Regions from separate parts of the Homo sapiens genome. Here regions 1 and 3 are each linked to region 2. The links are contacts of gene promoters, found by promoter capture Hi-C in human tissues and cell types (Jung and others, 2019). All regions are on one chromosome and are shown on one strand. The core of a region is centred on a gene start or on the middle of the fragment in contact, and the rest is flanking DNA. Distances in the headings are between cores, read along the strand shown.

Region 1 (2,999 bases), core at 201-2,700, 1.1 Mb after region 2:
CATATTCAACATTATTCTGACATGTTTGTTAACGTAAGGGAATTTGGTATTACAGCTATATAGCTTCAATTATATTCAAAGTAATTTTAACAATCATGTACTAATTAGAGATTTTGGAGTGACATATAGACATGGAATAAGTACAGACATGTTCAGATCTCATCCTTTGGCATGCCAAGGCAGAAGAAAGGTTGAGAACTATAGATTTTCAATGGTAAATCATTTATTCTTGAAAATAAATTTTTTTCCAAAAAAATGTACTTGATATTTAAAAATATGTGAATCTTTACCAACTACTTGGGACCAAAAATACTTACTTCACTGTGGCACTTAGAAGAAAGTTCAGCTGTGGTATCAATAGGTTGTCTGGGGCTGACAGATAACGATCAAACTGAACCTAAATGAAACAGAGAAATACAAAATATAAAGTACATATATGTGCTAACAAACAACTCAAATATAAACATCTCTTTTAAGAATTAAATCCTTGAGAAAAATTCCATACTCTAAATAACTAGATTGTTGTGTTCAAATTGTGTATTTTCTAAACATTCTAACTAAAACTCCCTAAAACTGTCAAATCTGTAATATAGTCAATATTAGCAATACTTACTTTCAAAATCCTGAATCCAAACCATTCATTTTAGTCTTCCTCACAAAGCTTTTAAGTAATAATATTAACAAGAAGTAAAGTCATCAGGTTTCAGGTCTACCTGTTTCTTGATTTTACTATATTTGTTCATTTGTTCATTAATGCATTCATTAGTTCAACTAATACCTACCATTGAAAAGGTACTATATTAAGTAATGGAAGTATAAAAATGAGCAAAAAAAGGATAGTCCCTAGCTTCACAGAGCTTATGGCCTAGCAAGAGAGGTGTTAAACAGATAATAATATAAATAAATATATAATTACAAATTTTGTTAAATGCTATTAAGGAATAAAACAAGGTACTATAAAGCATAAATCAAGGACCTAGTCTGTGGATTCGGCAAAAGCATCTCTCAGGAAAGGACATTTGAAGTGAAATCTTAAAGATGAATATACATTAAGTAAGTGGATTGATGGGTGGGGAGGTTCAGGGAGAGGAGACAGCATGAAGACTTGAGGTGGGAAGGAAAACATATAAGTAGAGATCATGTAGGACTGGCATGCTTATTTAAGGATTTTAATTATTTCAAAAGCATTAGTAAACCATTGAATTTAAGTAAGGGAGAAATCTGATTTAAGTTTTAAGAAGCTAAATCTGGCCATAGGAAGACAGAATGGAAGATTGCAATAATAGATACAAAGACACCAATTAGGTACCTTAGGTACCTACTGCAGCATTTTTAGACTATAGGGGCAATCAAGGTGAAAGACGTAAAGATATTTGAGGACCATCAGGACTTGGTTACTGATAGAATGAAGGGATGGACTCCCAGATTTTGGATATGTATGAATTAATTCACCATATTATCATAACACATAACTGTACTCTTCATTCATTTATTTGTGTAGTAGCTGCATCCCTTACTAGATCATATCTGTTTTCATCCCAATTCTTAGCATGATGCCTAGAAAATAGCAGAAACTCGGTTAATAACTATTTAAATGATAAATGGATAGAAGGTCTTACAATTTTCTGAGTTAATAATGCCTGGAAGAGGACTTAGGTTTAGGGTGGAATGTGCAGAGTTAGTTTTGGACATGCTGAATTGAAGTGCCTTAGAAACCCCTAAATGGAGACAACAAATGGTTGTATATAATCACGTATTAAATACAAAACTCAAGCAAGATTTGTTTCTCCAGAGACATCGTATATTCATATTCACCTTAATTGTTCTGAAAATTAACACCAGGAACATGAAGAATTTTTAATGGCATTTCAAATATTTTATGAGTTGTATTACAGACTGGATATGTGTCAAGAGAGAAGGAGAAACAGAGGAAGGGAACATATATTTGGTACTAACTAATGTTACAGATCTAAGTGTGAGCATAGATCTTCATTTTTGGGGGGTAAATATCTTGAAGTGGAATTGTACTGGATAGTATGGTAAGTGTATATATAACTTTCTAAAAACATATCTTTTAATGAATCTAAAATTCATTTTCATCTATTTTTATTTAAACTTTTTAATATCGAATTTTCTTTGCATTTCTAATTTTTGCTACTATGTTTTTGTTTCATATATAGAAGTTATAACTGTTGCTTCTATATAGTGTCTTTTATCACGACATAATGTTTCTTATTTGTCTCATTTAGTCTTTTTAAATTCTACTTTATCTAATAATCATATAGATAGCTCCACCTTCTTCTTTGCATTTGTTAGGTATCTTATGAGCCTATCCTTTTGTTTTCAGTTAAACTGAGTTCTGGAAGATAATATATAGGAAAGCCTTGGCATCAAAAATTGTTGGAAAATTTAAAAACCTTCCTACAGGACTATCTATGAAAGTCAGGCCATTGTGGTAGTGAGTATACGTGAGTATTTTAAATACTTAGGATCACTAGTTTAGTACAGTAGTTAAACCCACAAGCTCTGTAGGCCAACTTCCTGGATTGAATGGGGTTGTCATGAGGATTAAAGAGTTAATACAGGGAAAACACTTGCTATGCTAATGTTAATGGCTGTTGTTCTTCCATATTATTATTACTATTACTAGTAGTACTATCATAAAACTTCCAAAAGGGATCATTCCTATGAGGGATAGAGCTATATGACTTAAATATCATACAATGAATGGCTATGCATATGAACACTATACATATGAGGAAAGTATATGTATTTAAGACACAGAAACACACTACAAAAAGTAGTGATCATGCAAAAAGGAAGGTACAAGATCTTCACCTGAAAAGAAGGAAGGTAATAAAGTGGAAATTCAGTGAGTCTCAAACTAAAGAGTAATAAACTGTTTTAAGAGTGGAATCTAATTTCGATTTTCACGTCAGGAACTTTAAACGAAGGATCAAGGTAGTAATAAGTTTATAATGATATACAGCCTAATTTCT
Region 2 (2,769 bases), core at 45-2,544:
CATTAAATTCTACAAATAGGCCAGGCACAGTGGCTCACGCCTGTAATCCCAGCACTTTGGGAGGCCAAGGCGGGCGGATCACCTGAGGTCGGGAGTTCGAGACCAGCCTGACCAACATGAGAAACCCCCGTCTCTATTAAAAATACAAAATTAGCCTGGCGTGGTGGGCCATGCTTGTAATCCCAGCTACTCGGGAGGCTGAGGGAGGAGAATAGCTTGAACCCAGGAGGCGGAGGTTGCGGTGAGCCGAGATCGCCCCATTGCACTCCAGCCTGGGCAACAAGAGCGAAACTCCGTCTCAAAAAAATAAACAAACAAATAAATTCTACAAATAGCCATTAGAATTATTAGGATAGAAAACGATGATGGGTACTAACAGATTCACTCAGAAGGAGTGGGCAGCTAATTCACATTATGTGTAGCTCTGGCTTGGAGAAGACACAGGGCTTGGAGGAGGCAAGACTGTTCAGCATGAATTAAAATTGATTTATGAGCTTGCTGTAGCACTTGGAATAGAAAAAAGAATCTTTTCAGCGCCTTTGACCCCTCTCTCAAATTACACCAGGGTGCAACTGAGGAACAACAGTGCCGACCACCCACTTTTCTCGACCCTTGGGGAAAATAACTTTTTTTTGGAAGGGAGAGTCAGTAGATGAGGCTGCATTTTCCACCAGGGAACACGAACTGCTGCGGGAAGATCCCAGCTTCTGGCTAAAGGAGCCGCAGGCCAGCTCGCCATCCAGTCCCCAGAGCCCGGGCTTTAGGTAAAGCGTGGAGATGCAAATCAGTTTCGCCGCCAAGGACCGGCCAGGCGCGTCTCCTCCCGGGCCTCGCAAGGAACAGGTCAGGGAGACGACTTCCAACTTTCTTGGCCGGACCCTAAACGTTCACCGCCCCTGCCCAGCCGCCCACTCCTGGGCAGCCAGCAAGTCTCCATTCACAAGCGGCTCCATGCTGCCCAGCACTGGCGCCCCTGAGGCGCGGAGCCCCGCAGCCAAATGACAGGACTTGGGGGCAAACAAGGACAAAAGTTCCCACCAGGTGGGCACTGCAGGAAGGAGGCCGACAACCCCGAGATTCTCCGAGTCCCGCGGCACGTGCGCTGCGACGCTGGCCGCTTCCCCCGCCGCTCGGGAAGGTCACGCCGCCCGCACACCGAGGCCCGCCCCGCGCCCCGCTCCCCGCTCCCTCTGCCTGGCGCGCTCCCCGCAGCTGCAGGCGCCAGACCGGGCTGCGCTCACCGCCGCGCCGGCGTGGCCGCGTCCAGCTCAGGCTCCGCCGCCCGCTCTCGGCTCCGGGTCGCCGGCTGGGGCGGCCACTTAACACCCACGTCGGCAACGGCCGGCCCTTCGCCCCTCCCTTCGCGCAGGCATCCCGGACTGCGGCCCCGCGAAGCTCAGGAGCGCCCCTGCGGCTGGCGGGCGGCCTGCCCAGGGCCGTGCCCGAGCCGAGACCGGGAGCCGCCACCGCCCACCGGCCCTGCCACCGCCCCCAGCACGGGAAGCGGAAGTGGGCGTGGGGCCGCGGCGCGCACAGCCAGCCCGCGACCCGGCGTGGTGCTGCCGCCGACCCTGGTGAAGGTGGAGAGCGGGGCCTGCGCCTCCGGAGACTTTCCCACCTCTGGGATCCCCGAGACCCTCTCTGAGGCCGGACCCTTGTTAGCCCGCTGGGCTGGGACTGGGGGCTGGGGGCTGGTAATGTCAGTGGTTGGGAGGACTTACTTTTTAGCTACTTTGACCTTGTTGGGAGGCTAAGGCCTTATTTATAAATTATATTTGAGTACAAAATTATACTCGGGATCCAAGGCCCTAATAGGAAATACAACTAAGTATGAAAATACAGGAATTAGCCGGGCATGGTGGCTCACGCCTGTAATCCCAGCACTGTGGGAGGCCGAGGTAGGCGGATCACCTGAGGTCAGGAGTCCAAGACCAGCCTGGCCAACATGGTGAAACCCCGTGTACTAAAATTACAAAAATTTATCCAGCGTGGTGGTGCGTGTCTGTAACCCCAGCTACTAGGGAGGCTGAGGCAGGAGAATCGCTTGAATCTGGGAGGTGAAGGTTGCAGTGAGCCAAGATTGCATCACTACACTCCAGCCTGGGCTACACAGCGAGACTCCGTTTCATAAAAACAAACAAACAACGACAAAAAAAAAAAGGTGTGGTGACACATGCCTCTATTCTTAGCTATTTGGGAGGCCAAGGCGGGAGGATCGCTTGAGGCCAGGAATTGGAGGCCGCAGTGAGCTATGATGGCACTGTTGCACTCCAGCCTGGATGACAGAGACCTCATCTCTCTCTCTCTCTCTCTCTCACCCACACACACACACACACACACACACACACACCCTCCACACAGTGTAATTTTATTTTACAACTTTAAGCCTTGTTTAGATGTGCTGTTGGATTATTATTTTTTTCTTTTTTTTTCTTTTTTTTTTTGAGACAGAGTCTCACTCTGTCACCCGAGCTGGAGTGCAATGGTGCAATCTCAGCTCACTGCAACCTCCCCCTCCTGGGTTCAAGCGATTCTCCTGCCTTAGCTTCCCAAGTAGCTGGGATTACAGGCATGCGCCACCACACCCAGCTAATTTTGTATTTTTTAGTAGAGACAGGGTTTCACCACCTTGGCCGGGCTGGTCTCGAACTCCTGACCTCAGGTGATCTGCCTGCCTCGGCCTCTCAAAGTGCTGGGATTACACGTGTGAGCCACCACGTCTGGATGTGCTATTGGATAATTACCTACGTTATTTAAGTGATTTAATTG
Region 3 (2,793 bases), core at 153-2,652, 1.0 Mb after region 2:
ATAGTGTATTATTTATTCTGTGTACTAATTCTCATGTCCAAATAAGTTTTTCATAATTTTTATAAAGTGTAACTTTAAACTTTTAAAATTATAAATGTATTAAAAACTTCCTTTTTATAATTGTATCTCTTTATTATATTCTGTATTTGGTGAGACACTCTTCTCATACTTTAGTTCTTCAGACTTGGTTTCCTTAAATCCTTGAACATATTTAAAATAGTTAAAATCTTTGTCTAATAAGTTCAATATCTGGGCTATCTGTTGGAAATCAGATTAGATTCTCTTGCCCCACCCCGTTTGTTGTTGCTGCCTTTTATAGCTGTGATTATATTTTAGTGACTTTCATGAACTCATTCTGTAAAATCTACATTCTTTGTCATGTGTAACCACTTATGTGTCCGATTCATTAGCTTAATTGTCAACTAATGATTAGATGAAGAGTTCCTTGAATGCCTAAACCAAAAAATTGCTCAGTCTTTGCTGAAGGACTCTGTGTGTCTGTTGGGACATGTCTTGGACACTCAGCTAGGCAGCTTCTAACTTTGCTTCTGCCTTCATTCCCTGCTTGCTCAGATCCTCAAGGTCAGGCAGAGGTGAGAGATTACGGTCTCTCTGTTCATTCATGAACATGCACACAGTCCTAAACATGCACAGAGCCTTCTAGATTCCCAGAAATACGTAAGAGCTTTTCAAAGTCCTTATGAACATCTCATTCCCAACCTTTCTTCCAAAGCTTTCTGGTTAGTTTATTGTTTGCTCCAACTTTTACCCATTGCTTCATGTAGCAATGACAGGTAAATGTTTTAAATAAATTCCCCACCCCCACCCCAGTAGAGGGTGAGTTCCATAACAGGCAAGATAAAGGCCGGTTTTTTAAATGGGTTTTCCTGGGAGCTATCAGACAGATCAAATAAGGATAATCTGCAAATAAGGTCCATTCTGCTCTTTCCCATACCATGAATGTGGCGTGTTCTTTTCAACACTACTGCTGAACTAGGGAGCAAGGTATGGAAACGGCATAAGTTAAACACCAAAATGCTTGCTGTTATTACTAACATTTGGCTTTTTTTTCTCTTTTTTTAAGTAACTCAGGTTACTGTGATCTTTTGATTAGTTTCTCGAGTCCTGAAAAAGTTGACTTTGATCATTTTTTGAAGGCCAGTTTTATTGCTACCTTTATGAAGGGACAAAATTTTTAAGTTCCTTAATCCACCATTTTTCCTCTCACCACACTATTACATAATTTTACATCTTAACCAAATAGTTAATAGAACCCAATCATTATGATAATCTCAGACTGAACAATGTACAGTTGTGGTTTGAAACTTTGTTTTCTGTGCTCTCAACCTCTTATACCAAGGACATCCGGCTGAATTATAAAGGATGATATTAGTTCATTTTTTCTTCTTGCCAACATGCACAAGCACTCTACCAAATTTCATGATGTTTATTTACAATACATGTAACTATCATTGTGCAAGACAGGGAATTCCTCAACGGGAAACACATAATTTGGTTATATTTTTAAATGCTTATCACAAAGCCTACTACCTAGTAGGTACTTAAGAAATGTGTTTAATGATAAGACTAATGAAAAAAAATAGCTCTCATATATTGAGTTCTAACTTTAGCCCAGGCCCTATGCCAAGCAAATTTCTAAACTATTTTTTAAAATTGTAAAATATATGAACAGAAGTTTATGTAACATATATGAAAAATTTTAAAGAATATTTAAGAGTACTAACAACCTAGCATAAGAATAAAACATTATCAGTAACTTCAACACATCCTGTGTTTCCCTCTCCATAATCTTAAATTGTATTAATCATTTCCTATATTTTCCTTACACCTTTACATGTATCCACATTCTATAAAATTAGTATTATATTATTCTGATTTCTTTCTCAACATTATGTACTTGAAAACCATTCATTTTCTCACTGCTGTACTCCATCATATGGATATATCTAAAGACATTTAAGCTAACATTATTCTGGATAGAAAAGGTTGAAGTAACAAATCCCTAAAGGAAGGATTAAAACAAAAAAGTATCCAGGATCAAGCCCTAGAGTATGCCAACTTTTAGAAATCATATAGAGGCAAAAGAGCCAGGGAAGAAGGTCAAAAGGGGGTTGGGTTAATGAAATGGGAGGAAAATTAGGAGAAAGTGGTGCCATGGAAGACTGGAAAGGATAGAATTTCAAACAGAAATGTGTAGAATGACACTGAGAGTTCAACAAATAGAGATACAGAAGAATCTGCTAGATCTGACAACATATAGCACTGATGAAAAGCTTATCAGGTTAGTTTCGGTGTAGTAGTGAGAGACTGAAACTATATTGGGATACTTTAAAGACAGAATGAGAAATAAGGAAGTAGACGACAGCATGTCTAAACCAGGAAAGGAAGCAGAGAAATGGAAGTGTTAGGATCTGAGTAGAGAGTTTTTAAAAATACTATGAACATTACAACATTATTTATGACATTGAGAATAATCCTACAGAGAGGCCAGTTGTTGCTGAAGCAAAATGAAGGGATAACCCAGAGACAGAAGGATCTAATAAGAAGATGAGAGATGCGAGCCAGAGCATAATGGAGGGAATATCCTGTCATAGAAAGAGAGATAACATCTCAAGTACAAAACAAGGAAGGAGAGGAGATGGGTGTGATGTTTGAGAATAGGAAAATGAGGAAGATTAATCTAATAGTTTCTATTCTTGGTGAATTATGAAGGATATTAACTGAGAATGTGGGTGTAAAAGTCCTCTGGAAACATGGCAAGTTAAGAGTAGA

The links. The method cuts DNA at HindIII sites, captures the fragments that hold promoters and counts their contacts. A contact is called where the count stands out against the background at its distance.
Region 1: a contact is called between a fragment that was not itself captured here and the fragment with the promoter of SLC25A15 in region 2, in 1 of the 25 tissues and cell types used here (spleen).
Region 3: a contact is called between a fragment that was not itself captured here and the fragment with the promoter of SLC25A15 in region 2, in 1 of the 25 tissues and cell types used here (dorsolateral prefrontal cortex).

Annotation. Positions count from the first base shown.
Region 1 is chr13:39,724,867-39,727,865 of GRCh38, reverse strand. It overlaps COG6 (component of oligomeric golgi complex 6), which reads right to left. Exons shown (of 19, transcript NM_020751.3): 18 at 318-397. Among named protein-coding and RNA genes, the nearest start is that of MIR4305, 62 kb to the right of the region's middle. The HindIII fragment of the contact is 4,349 bases long and covers 1-2,999 here.
Region 2 is chr13:40,788,136-40,790,904 of GRCh38, reverse strand. SLC25A15 (solute carrier family 25 member 15) reads right to left here and starts at 1,294. Exons shown (of 7, transcript NM_014252.4): 1 at 1,242-1,294. RefSeq lists silencers at 1-12, 1,145-1,724. The HindIII fragment of the contact is 20,114 bases long and covers 1-2,769 here.
Region 3 is chr13:39,753,470-39,756,262 of GRCh38, reverse strand. It overlaps a transcript of COG6 not described here. Among named protein-coding and RNA genes, the nearest start is that of MIR4305, 91 kb to the right of the region's middle. The HindIII fragment of the contact is 5,651 bases long and covers 1-2,793 here.